Linked DNA regions of Homo sapiens: region 2 is linked to region 1. Evidence: promoter capture Hi-C in human tissues and cell types (Jung and others, 2019). All regions are on one chromosome and are shown on one strand. The core of a region is centred on a gene start or on the middle of the fragment in contact, and the rest is flanking DNA. Distances in the headings are between cores, read along the strand shown. Region 1 holds the start of PES1 (pescadillo ribosomal biogenesis factor 1). Region 2 overlaps THOC5 (THO complex subunit 5).

Region 1 (5,403 bases), core at 1,630-4,129:
CTATGTTGTCCAGGCTGCTTTCAAACTCCTGGGCTCAAGTGATCCTCCCCACTCAGCTTCTGAGTAGCTGGGACTACAGGAACCTGGCCCTATGCCTGGCTGTGTTTTTTTTTTTTTTTTAAGGCGGGGCACAGTTTAGTAGAGACAAGGTATCACTATGTTGCCCAGGCTGGTCTAGAACTCCTGAGCTCAAGCAATCCTCCCACCTTTGCCTCCCAAAAGGCTAGGATTACAGGTGTGAGGCACCGTGCCAAGCTAATTTTTTTTTTCTGAAACAGAGTCTCTCTGTTGCACAGGCTGCAGTGCAATGGCACAATTTTGGCTCATTGCAACCTCTGCCTCCCAGGTTCAGGTGATTTTTCTGCCTTGGCCTCGCTGGTAGCTGGGATTACAGGTGTGCATCACCACGCCCAGACAATTTTTGTATTTTTAGTAGAGATGGGGTTTCACCATATTTGCCAGGCTGGTCTTGAACTCCTGACCTCAGGTGATCCACCCACCTTGGCCTCCCAAAGTGCTGGGATTACAGGCGTGTGTCACCATGCCCAGCAAATTTTTGTTTTAAATGAAACAATGTAAACATACTTAAAGCAACAACTACTTTATGCAGTTAGTGTTGACCCCATCTTACAAATGAGGAAGAGAGGTACCCTGAGGTAAAGTGGCTTGTCCGAGGCTTAGAGGTAAACCAGGTGTGTCTCCCTGCAGAGACTGGGCTTTTCACCGTAATGCTGATGGAGGCTTGGTATTGCACAAAGCATTCTGTGTGTGGGCAGCCCTAATGGTTAAAAACCTCTTCCCTTTATGGAACAAAAATCTACCTGGCATTATCCTGGAGTCACATAACATTCTTTCTACTATACGTTAGGTAGTGGAATGTGAGTTTAGCAGAGGACTCTGAAACCAGACTGCTTGGTGAGAATCTATTCTGCACAGCTTAGCAGCTGAGTGATCTTCAGCGATCACTTACTTTCCTGAGACTTAGTTTCCTCCCTTGTGAAATGTGGTACCTATATGACGGCTATTTTGAGCTGAAATTACAATTGCTTCCCTGAACATCCCCACCTGTGTCTTCCAGTGACCCCTCAACATTAATGTGAGCAAAACAAGGCTCAACTTTCTGCAAACATGGTTCTATCTGTGCAGGACGAGCTAGGTGATTTGTGAGGGACAGGGTGAGATGACTGCCCAGGCCACATGCTCACGACACCAGCCCTGTTCCTGTGTTGCCCTCATGAGCCAGCCACTGCCACCCTCTCCAGTCCATCCCTTTCCTTCTTCTTCTTTTTTTTTTTGAGATGGAGCCTCGCTCTGTCGTCTAGGCTTGAGTGCAGAGTGCAGTGGCACAATCTTGGCTCACTGCAACATCTACCTCCTGGGTTCAATAAATTCTCCTGCCTCAGCCTCCCAACTAGCTGGGGTTACAGGTGCCTGCCACCACACCCGGCTAATTTTTGTATTTTTGGTAGAGATGGGTTTTCGCCATGTTGGCCAGGCTGGTCTCAAACTCCTGATCTCAGGTGATCCGCCTGCCTCAGCCTCTCAAAGTGCTGGGATTACAGGTGTGAGCGACCGTGCCCGGCTTCATCTCATTTTTAACTGTGGAATTGCTGGGTTTTAAATTTTAGCTTTAAATTAGATAGTGCAAGTCACATAGTTCAAAACAAGTATTCACCAGTGCTTAACGTCTGTCTCTGTGTAAGTTCTAAGACCAAGTCCTTGGGCCAGGTCACATTCACAAGAGCCTCAAATTTAAACTTTTGAGATCATCTTCGAACGAAATTTGGAATTTGGAAAAAGGGAGAAACGTTTAAAAAAAAAAAAACCTCTTAAAATTGCATCTACTTCCAGACTGCACCATCTCAAGGTGATGTGACTATTTGTATAAATCTTGGAATTATTATTTGAGGAACACTTACAGAATTTATGTGTACAAATTAAAAGCTCGAATATGTTGAATGTACATTTAATTTTATTTATTTATTTATTTTTGAGATGGAGTCTCACTCTGTCGCCCAGGCTGGAGTGCAGTGGCAAGATCTCGGCTCACTGCAACCTCTGCCTCCCAGGTTCAAGCGATTCTCCTGCGTCAGCCTCCCGAGTAGCTGGGATTACAGGCGTGTGCCACCATGGCCAGCTAATTTTTGTATTTTTAGCAGAGACGGGGTTTCACTATATTGGTCACACTGGTCTCGAACTCCTGACCTCAGATGATCCGCCTGTCTTGGCCTCCCAAAGTGCTGGGATTACAGGCGTGCGCCACCGCTCCCAGCCTTGAATGTACATTTTAAATATACCACGAGTCCACCACTAAGGCTCAGAAAATATAAGTGGCCTCTAGGATCTCTATACCTCCGCGAGGAAAAATGTCTTCCTTTTTTCTATTTTAGCCGCATAACCGCGAATGAACCAAAGAGAACCCGAAGCCGGTGGGAACTCAGCGCAGTCTCACCCTGCCCCTCGGGAACCGCTTCTCAGCAGCGGCAGCCGAAGTCTGACGACGCTTAGCAACCGTTACCTTGACAACGCAATCCTATCGCGCACCATGGAGTGCGGCGCCCCTCTGCATCCCAGAAGGCACCGCGCTGTCCCTAAGCCTTCCGCCCCTCTCCGTCCCAACATGCAACGAGGCTCACAGTCAATGAATCGTCATCAGGGTGATTACAGAAAAGCCTGTATATCCACGTTTGTTTTAACACTTAAAGTGTTTGTAACCATTGTGAGCGGGAAAGATCTGGAAAGAGTGTTCTCAGTGATTTTTTTCAGACTATAGTTTTAAATCTTGAGGAGGAAATCCCCATCTTTCCCTGGACTTGTACAGGCATCTCATTGGGCAGCCCGCACAAACAGACAGCGTGGGGTGGGGAGGGTCCTCGGGGTCCTTGGCAGGGCACGTGCGGGAGGAAGTGGAGCTCCCTGTACGCGCGGCCCTAGTCGGCTCCTCAACGTGGAGCGATGGGAGGCCTTGAGAAGAAGAAGGTGATTGGGAAAGACGGTGGGGATTCCCGAGGGGTGGGGTGCGGGGGCGGCAGAGCATGGGGTCGACTCTTTTCCCGGGCTCCGTCTCGTGGAGACTGGAAAGACGGGATCGACGTGACCGTAATCAGCTGCGAGAAGGGGTCCGAGAATGGACAAGGATGGCAGTATTCGTTTAGTGAAATCCGAGAACGAACTCCAGAGTTCTTTCTGTGGAGAGGGCTGTGAAAGAGAGTTGAACTTACCAAGCGTAGCTTCATTCCAAAAGCAGGCCGAGCCGTGGGACCACTATTTACCGAAAGGGTGATAAACATTACGTAGAGCTCACCGTTACTGCACCGTTACATTAGTTGGTTAGTGTTGTCTTGGAAGTTCTCTTCGAGGCATAACATTTCGGCTGAAATGGGAAAGATCAGAACGTCTTGGATGGGTTCTGGGGCATGGGAGTGCTTAGCGAGCAGGCCTGACAAGGGAAACCAAGTGCCAAGATCAGTAGGCAGGGAAGGCTTGCTGTGTGTAAGGAGTTGGAAGGACATTAGGATGACTCGCATGTAAACCAAGAAAAGAATGGCATCTGATAAGATTGGGGTTGGACACGTACTGTATCGTGCAAGGCCTGTAAGCTTGGATTTTATTCTAAGTGCAGTAGGAATAGTGTAGAGCTTGGATTTTATTCTACGTGCAGTAGGAAAAAAAGGAGGAGTAACACGATTAGAGTTTTTCAGGGAGTTCTTGTGGCTGTATGGAGAATCGGCCCAGTGACATGAAAAGACTGGGAAGGGAATGGGAATGAGGAATATATAGTTGGCTTAAGTGTTTCTTTCAGAGTGAAAGTTTCTATTGCCAGTGTTCTTAACCCAACACACTACATTGAGTATCCAGTGCTAGCCATCGGAACTGCAAAGATACAAGATGGAAAACCTGCCCTTGAGTTGCAGATGTAGATATGTAACAAAATCGTTACAGTTTTTAAAAGCTGGGTTTCAGAGCCAGAATCAACAAAGATGAGTCTTTGTTGTGGGAAGGATTGTCTTGTGTGTAGTAGGATATTTGGCAACATCCCTGATCCTTTACCTACTGGATACCAGTAGCACCCAGCAACCAAAAATGTCTCCAAACATTGCTGAACTCTCCTCCCCCCAGCACATACCCAGGGAGTACCCCATTGAGAACTATTTATTCCCTTAACATTTATAAGGATAAGCATGGTGACAGAGATAAGTGTGGCATAAGGTAATGGAAAACGCTATAAATGAAAACTCAACTTCTTAAGGCAGTCTGAAACTCATCTTTATACCTCCAAGACTTAGCATGGGCCTAATACCTAATAGACAATTAATGTCTAAAGGAAAGAATGAATGAAGGGTATGTTTCATGACTATGATGTTATTAGTAAACGTACCTGTGGGAGACTAACAGGTTTGTCTCTTTAGAGCTGAACCTAGCCAAAGAGGCCCCTGCTGTCTTAGTCCAGAGGAAGATCTTGTTTGGAAACGACATGCTTGTTAGCTTGCAGGGTATTTGTTACAGTGCACTGATTGTCTCTATCGAGGGATACAGAAGTGTGAGGGATACAGAAATGTGGGTGTGAGGCAGCATCTTAGCACCACAGGCATCCAGATGGTTATACAAGACAATAGGCTTCTTAGGGGCAGGTAGAGACCAGGCTTTTTGTCTTTATTGCCTTCATAGCATCTAGCTTAGTGCTTTGACCATAATAGAGGACCTGTTATTGTCTGTTGAATGAATGAATGAGGAAGGGGAGAAGCTGTGTGGCTTAGAGCATGCTTTTTCAGCCAGGGTAATACCACCCTCAAGGGAACAAAATTGGTTGAGGGGCAGTATCTTAGCTATTACAATGGTTGTGGCTCCCCAAGGACTACATTACATAAACAGACCTACAGTATATCTCTGGTATTAACATTTTATGGGGCATAGGGAAGAAAGGGTGATGGGTGAGGGAGGAAGGGGGTGTCTAATAAGTCTCCTGGTAGTGGTGAAGAGGTTATAATGAGGAAGAAAAGAAGGGGAAAAGATTAGGAACACTGGCTTAGCTATTAGGCATTCAGGTACTGGACTCAGACCTGAGTTTGAATCCCAGCCCCAACTCTTAAAAAGCTGTGTGCTTTTTAAGAGTTGCATGGGTTATTTTACGAGCCCGTTTTCTCCTATGTGAAATGGACGTTCGGACAGCACCTACATCACAGGGTTATGGGAATTAAATGAAATGTGTGAAAATCACTAATTGTAATGGCCAACATTTAGAGCTAGTGCTAAGCACTTGGCACAGCACCCTATCCGTAGCAGCCTCGCAGCCCTCAGCATCATGCAGATGTATGTGTTCCCTATGCTGACAGCCGCAAGGATGGTACAGGAGAGCTCATCCAGGCAGGTCGGCTCCTTCCCTGCAGTGTTTCCTCTCCTAGA
Region 2 (5,403 bases), core at 1,698-4,197, 1.0 Mb after region 1:
AAATGTGGGGTCAGAGCCCCCACACAGTCCCTACTGAGGCACTGCCTAGTAGAGCTGTGAGAAGAGGGCCACCGTCCCTTCAGACCCTAGAATGGTAGATCCACGAACGGCTTGCACCATGCACCTGAAAAAGCTGCAGACACTCAATGCCAGCCCATGAAAGCAGCCAGGAGGGAGGGAGACTGTACCCTGCAAAGCCACAGGGGTGGAGCTGCCCAAGACCATGGGAAGCCACCTTTTGCATCAGCTTGACCTGGATGTGAGACCTGGAGTCAAAGGAGATAATTTTGGAGCTTTAAAATTTCACTGCCCTACTGGATTTTGGTCTTGCATGGGCCCTGTAACGCCTTTGTTTTGGCCAATTTCTCCCATTTGGAATGGCTATATTTACCCCCACTGTATCTACGAAGTAACTAGCTTGCTTTTGATTTTACAGGCTCATAGGCGGAAGGGGCTTGCCTTGTCTCAGATGAGATTTTGGACTATGGACTTTTGGGTTAATGCTGAAATGAGTTAAGACTTTGGGCGACTGTTGGGAAGGCATGATTGGTTTTGAAATGTGAGGACATGAGATTCGGAGGGGCCAGGGGCGGAATGATATGGTTTGGGATTTAAATCTCAACTTGAATTGTATTTCCCAGAATTGCCACATGTTGTGGGAGGGACCCAGAGGGAGGTAATTGCATCATGGGGGCCAGTCTTTCCCGTGCTATTCTCATGATAGTGAATAAGTCTCACGACATCTGATGGGTTTATAAGGGGTTTCTGCTTTTGCTTCCTCCTCATTTTTCTCTTGCCGCCGCCACATAAGAAGTGCCTTTCACCTCTCGCCATGATTCTGAGGCCTCCCCAGCTATGTGGGACTGTAAGTCCAATTAAACCTCTTTTTGTTCCCAGTTTCAGGTGTGTCTTTATTGGCAGCGTGAAAATGGACTAATGCAGATGGGAAGTTGCACTTAACAGCACGGACAGTATGATCCCGTTTTGTTTACAAATAAAATGTTTATTTATCCACAATCTTCACTCAGTTTCGGACTGAGAGGCGAAATTATAGGCAATTTTTCCATTTTCTTTTTGATACTCCTCTGTATATTCTGAATCTTTGATACCAGGCATGCATTACTCTGCAATCAGAAAGCAAAAGAGGTTTCTATTTTGAAGAGAAGAAAAGCATTTAATTTAAGGACCAGATCTTTTAGAGACCTGACTGAGGCTTCATTGTTACTGTTTTTATCTAAAAGGAGATGTCAGCCAAGTGTCCCTGATCCCAGCAGGGAGACTTTTACCCCATGCACACAGAGCCTTTATCCTTACCTCTACAGGAAGGTAAATACTACAGTGAGGAGGCCGAGGTGGATCTGCGGGACCCTGGCAGAGACTATGAGTTATACAAGTACACCTGCCAGGAGCTACAGAGGCTGATGGCTGAGATCCAAGACCTGAAGAGCAGGGGTGGCAAGGATGTGGTAAGGAGTGGGACCAGGTGGCCGTGAACCTGGTGGGTTTACATAGATGAGGCTGTTTTTGCACCTACCAGGGCCCTTCCTGATCTTGATCTTCTGTCCTAGCCATGATCAGGTGATTGGAGCCTGAGGGCTCCCAAAACCTGTGAATTTATTGGAACTTCTTATCACCATTCAGTCACCAATTACAGGAATGAAAGTACAGGATAATTAATTTTTTCCCTACTAATTTGATCATTCATCCAATTAATATTTATTAAGTGCCAGGCATTTTGCTAGGTGTTGAGAAATGATGGTACTTATACATTTGCTTGATACAAAGATGGATGTGTACAAGTAAATTGTAGATACCAAAAATGAAATTATCATTAATAGTAAATGAATAAATGAGGTTTTAGGGGCAGAGAAATTAAACAATGTGACTAAAAACTCGATAGATAAGTTTTTTAAAATCCATTTTTTCCCCCAGGAATCTCACGTATTTGTGCTTATGCTGACAAGTTTTGTTAGAATTATTGCATTCAATCTATTCTAGCCAAGCTTTATGGCTATAATTCTGTTATTTTCCATTTAAGTTATCCTGTAATGTTATTTATAGAGGTCAAATTTTATGACAAGATGTTACTATTGCTGGGATCTCTGTGTAGGATCTGTAGAGATAGATTGTGCCTTTGCTGCCCTTATTCCATCTTCAATTCCTGTTACTCTAGTCCAAGCAGAAATTACTTTTTTTTGCCCGAGATTCTTAATCATTTTCCTTATACAATCATCCTCTTATTTTCTTCATGACCCTTCTCATGGTTCTGAGCTCCCTCCGGTGCCGTTTTTGGCCCCAGATGAGGATGGGTCAGTGGTGAAGGACTGAAGGAAGCTGAGCTAGCCCTGTCGTCAGTGGGCTTTACTGTTTTCTTTGCCCACAGGCAATAGAAATAGAAGAACGGAGGATCCAGAGCTGTGTGCATTTCATGACTCTAAAGAAGCTTAACCGATTAGCCCACATCAGGTTGAAGAAAGGAAGAGATCAGACCCACGAGGTAGTAGTTAAAAGGTTTAATTTTAACCTTCCTCCTTCCTCCTCCCCATCCCCTTCTTTTTTTTTTTTTTTTTTTTTTTTTGAGACAGAGTCTCGTTCTGTCCCCCAGGCTAGAGTGCAGTGGCACGATCTCAGCTCACCACATCCTCTGCCTCCCAGCTTCAAGCGATTCTCCTGCCTCAGCCTCCTAAGTAGCTGGGATTACAGGCACCTCCCACCACCATGCCTGGCTAATTTTTGTATTTTTTAGTAGAGATGGGGTTTCACCTTGTTGGCCAGGCTTGTCTTGAACTCCTGAGCTCAGGTGATCCACTCGCCTCGGCCTCCCAAAGTGCTGGGATTACAGGCGTGAGCCACTGCACCCAGCCCCATCCCCTTCTTTATTCCCTTTACACCTTCTCTTAGTTTGCTGACCCTCTCCTCTGCTCCATCCTGACTTGCCCTGCTCACTTCTGATCGTATTTTCCTTTCAGGCTAAGCAGAAAGTAGATGCCTATCATCTGCAGCTCCAGAACCTGTTGTATGAGGTGATGCACCTACAGAAGGAGATCACCAAATGTTTGGAGTTTAAGTGAGTTTGGGAGGACAGGGCTTTGGCACATGTGGTCTTTCGGTAACTGCTTTTTCCCATGTAGCTCACTGTAAGTCTGTTTCTTTTTTTTTTTTGAGACGGAGTCTTGCCCTGTCACCCAGGCTGGAGTGCAGTGGCGCAATCTCAGCTCACTGCAACCTCCACCTCCCGGGTTCAAGCAATTCTCCTGCCTCAGCCTTCTGAGTAGCTGGGATTGCAGGCGCCCACCTCCACATCCAGCTAATTTTTGTATTTTTAGTAGAGACGGGGTTTTGCCATGTTGGCCAGGCTGTTCTCGAACTCCTGACCTCAGGTGGTCCTCCCGCCTCGGCCTCCCAAAGTGCTGGGATTACAGGCGTGAGCCACCGCTCCCAGCCTAAGTCTCTCTTTAAAAAGAAATCTGATGAGCTTAGAAAACTGTAGGATCTGGGAGAAGGGCAAATTGCAAGGGTGAATGTGGGAGAATTGCAAGCCGTGATTTCAGGCTGCATAAAGAACCTCAGAAGTCTCTCTGACCTTTTTGAGTTTTGAGCTCTGCACTTGGTAAAAAGCAGGTCTCTCTCCCTATCAGGGGTCTTTACATTACCAGTTTGATTTCTGGGCATGTTGTATGGGAGCAACTCACTTCCAGTCACATTCTTTTAACCTTTTGGCCCAGTTTTCCTTTCTGTAGTCCCAGCAGTTCATTTCTGCAAATGGATTTTATTCTTTGGAACCTGAATTTCTTGCTGCTTAGCTGCCTTCAGGTGAAGAAACTACAGTTTGTCAGTGTCCTTCCTCAAAACCAAGCTGAGAGATGAGAAGGAGGAAGGAGTAAACGGGAAGAGAAGGGGAAGTGTTCTCACTTGATCAGACCTGTTTATGCAAACTGAAAGCAGCTTTTATCTGTAACAAACTTGACATATGCAGGGGCCCTATTAGACATTGGGTCCAGGATATATATATATATATATATATATATATATTTTTTTTTTTTTTTTTTTTTTTTTTTTTTTTTGGAGATGGAGTCTTGCTCTGTCGCCCAGGCTGGAGTGCAGTGGCGTGATCTCGGCTCACTGCAAGCTCCGCCTCCCGGGTTCACGCCATTCTCCTGCCTCAGCCTCCCGAGTAGCTGGGACTACAGGCGCTTGCCACCACGCCCGGCTAATATTTCGTGTTTTTAGTAGAGACAGGGTTTCACCGTGTTAGCCAGGATGGTCTCGATCTCCTGATCTTATGATCCGCCTGCCTCAGCCTCCCAAAGTGCTGGGATTACAGGCGTGAGCCACCACACCCGGTGGGTCCGGAATATTTTTAATAATCATGATACTGATTGATTGTTTTGTTTTTTGTCTTTTTTTTTTTTTTTTTTTGAGACAGGGTCTCACTCCTGTCACCCAGGCTGGTGTGGTGGCACAATCCTGGCTCACTGCAGCCTTGACTTGACTTGGCTCAGATGATCCTCCCATTTCAGCCTCCTGAGTAGCTGGGACTATTGGCATGCACCACCATGCCTGGCTAATTTTTTGTATTTTTAGTAGTGATAGGGTTTTGCCATGCTGGGCTAGTCTCAAACTCCTGGTTGCAAATGATCCACCTGCCTTGGCCTCCCAAAAGGGTAAGATTAAAGGTGTAAGCCACCAAGCCTGGCCTGATGCTGATTTTTTTCTTTTCTTTTCTTTTCTTTTTTTTTTAAAGATAAAGTCTCGCTCTGTTGCCCAGGCTGGAGTGTGGTGGCGTGATCTTGGCTCATTGCAACCTCTGCCTCCTGGGTTCAAGCGATTGCATGCATGAGCCACCACACCCAGCTAATTTTCGTATTTTTAGTAAAGACAGGGTTTCACCATGTTGGCCAGGCTGGTCTCAAACTCCTGACTTCAGATGATGCACCCATTTCGACCTCCCAAAGTGCTAGAATTACAGGCATGAGCCACTGTGCCCAGCCCTGATGCTGATTTTTGAGAGGCATCTTTATCTGTTCCACAAAATCGTCACATAACAATAGTTAAATATGAATAGAGGTGAAATCTGCATCAGGTCTGTACTTGAGTTAATAATATTGTACCAGTGTCAGTTCCTGGTTTTGACAATGTATAATGTGGTTAGATAAGATAGTATCATTGGGTGAAGGGTACATGGAGGAAATACATTCTAAGTATTATTTTTGAAACTTCTTGGAGTCTTAAACTATTTCCAAATTAAAAAGGTATCAAAAACAAAATAATGTGATGCACTGGTCTGTAATCATCACCCAAATGGAAACTGACAAACCCAGAATACAGTGGAACTTGCGCCTGTTGGGAGGCAGACGGCCACATGGAAGGAGCATAGGCCTTGAAGTTACACAGCCTGGGTTC

The links. Contacts are between HindIII fragments. The study calls those that stand out against the background at their distance.
Region 2: a fragment that was not itself captured here is called in contact with the fragment with the promoter of PES1 in region 1 in 1 of the 25 tissues and cell types used here (liver).

The regions. Positions count from the first base shown.
Region 1 is chr22:30,589,386-30,594,788 of GRCh38, reverse strand. PES1 (pescadillo ribosomal biogenesis factor 1) reads left to right here and starts at 2,879. Exons shown (of 15, transcript NM_014303.4): 1 at 2,879-2,979. The coding sequence starts at 2,956. RefSeq lists enhancers at 2,257-2,336, 2,557-2,856, 2,336-3,051. The HindIII fragment of the contact is 28,649 bases long and covers 1-5,403 here.
Region 2 is chr22:29,540,523-29,545,925 of GRCh38, reverse strand. It overlaps THOC5 (THO complex subunit 5), which reads left to right. Exons shown (of 20, transcript NM_003678.5): 3 at 1,323-1,466; 4 at 2,384-2,497; 5 at 2,970-3,067. Among named protein-coding and RNA genes, the nearest start is that of THOC5, 11 kb to the left of the region's middle. The HindIII fragment of the contact is 4,062 bases long and covers 917-4,978 here.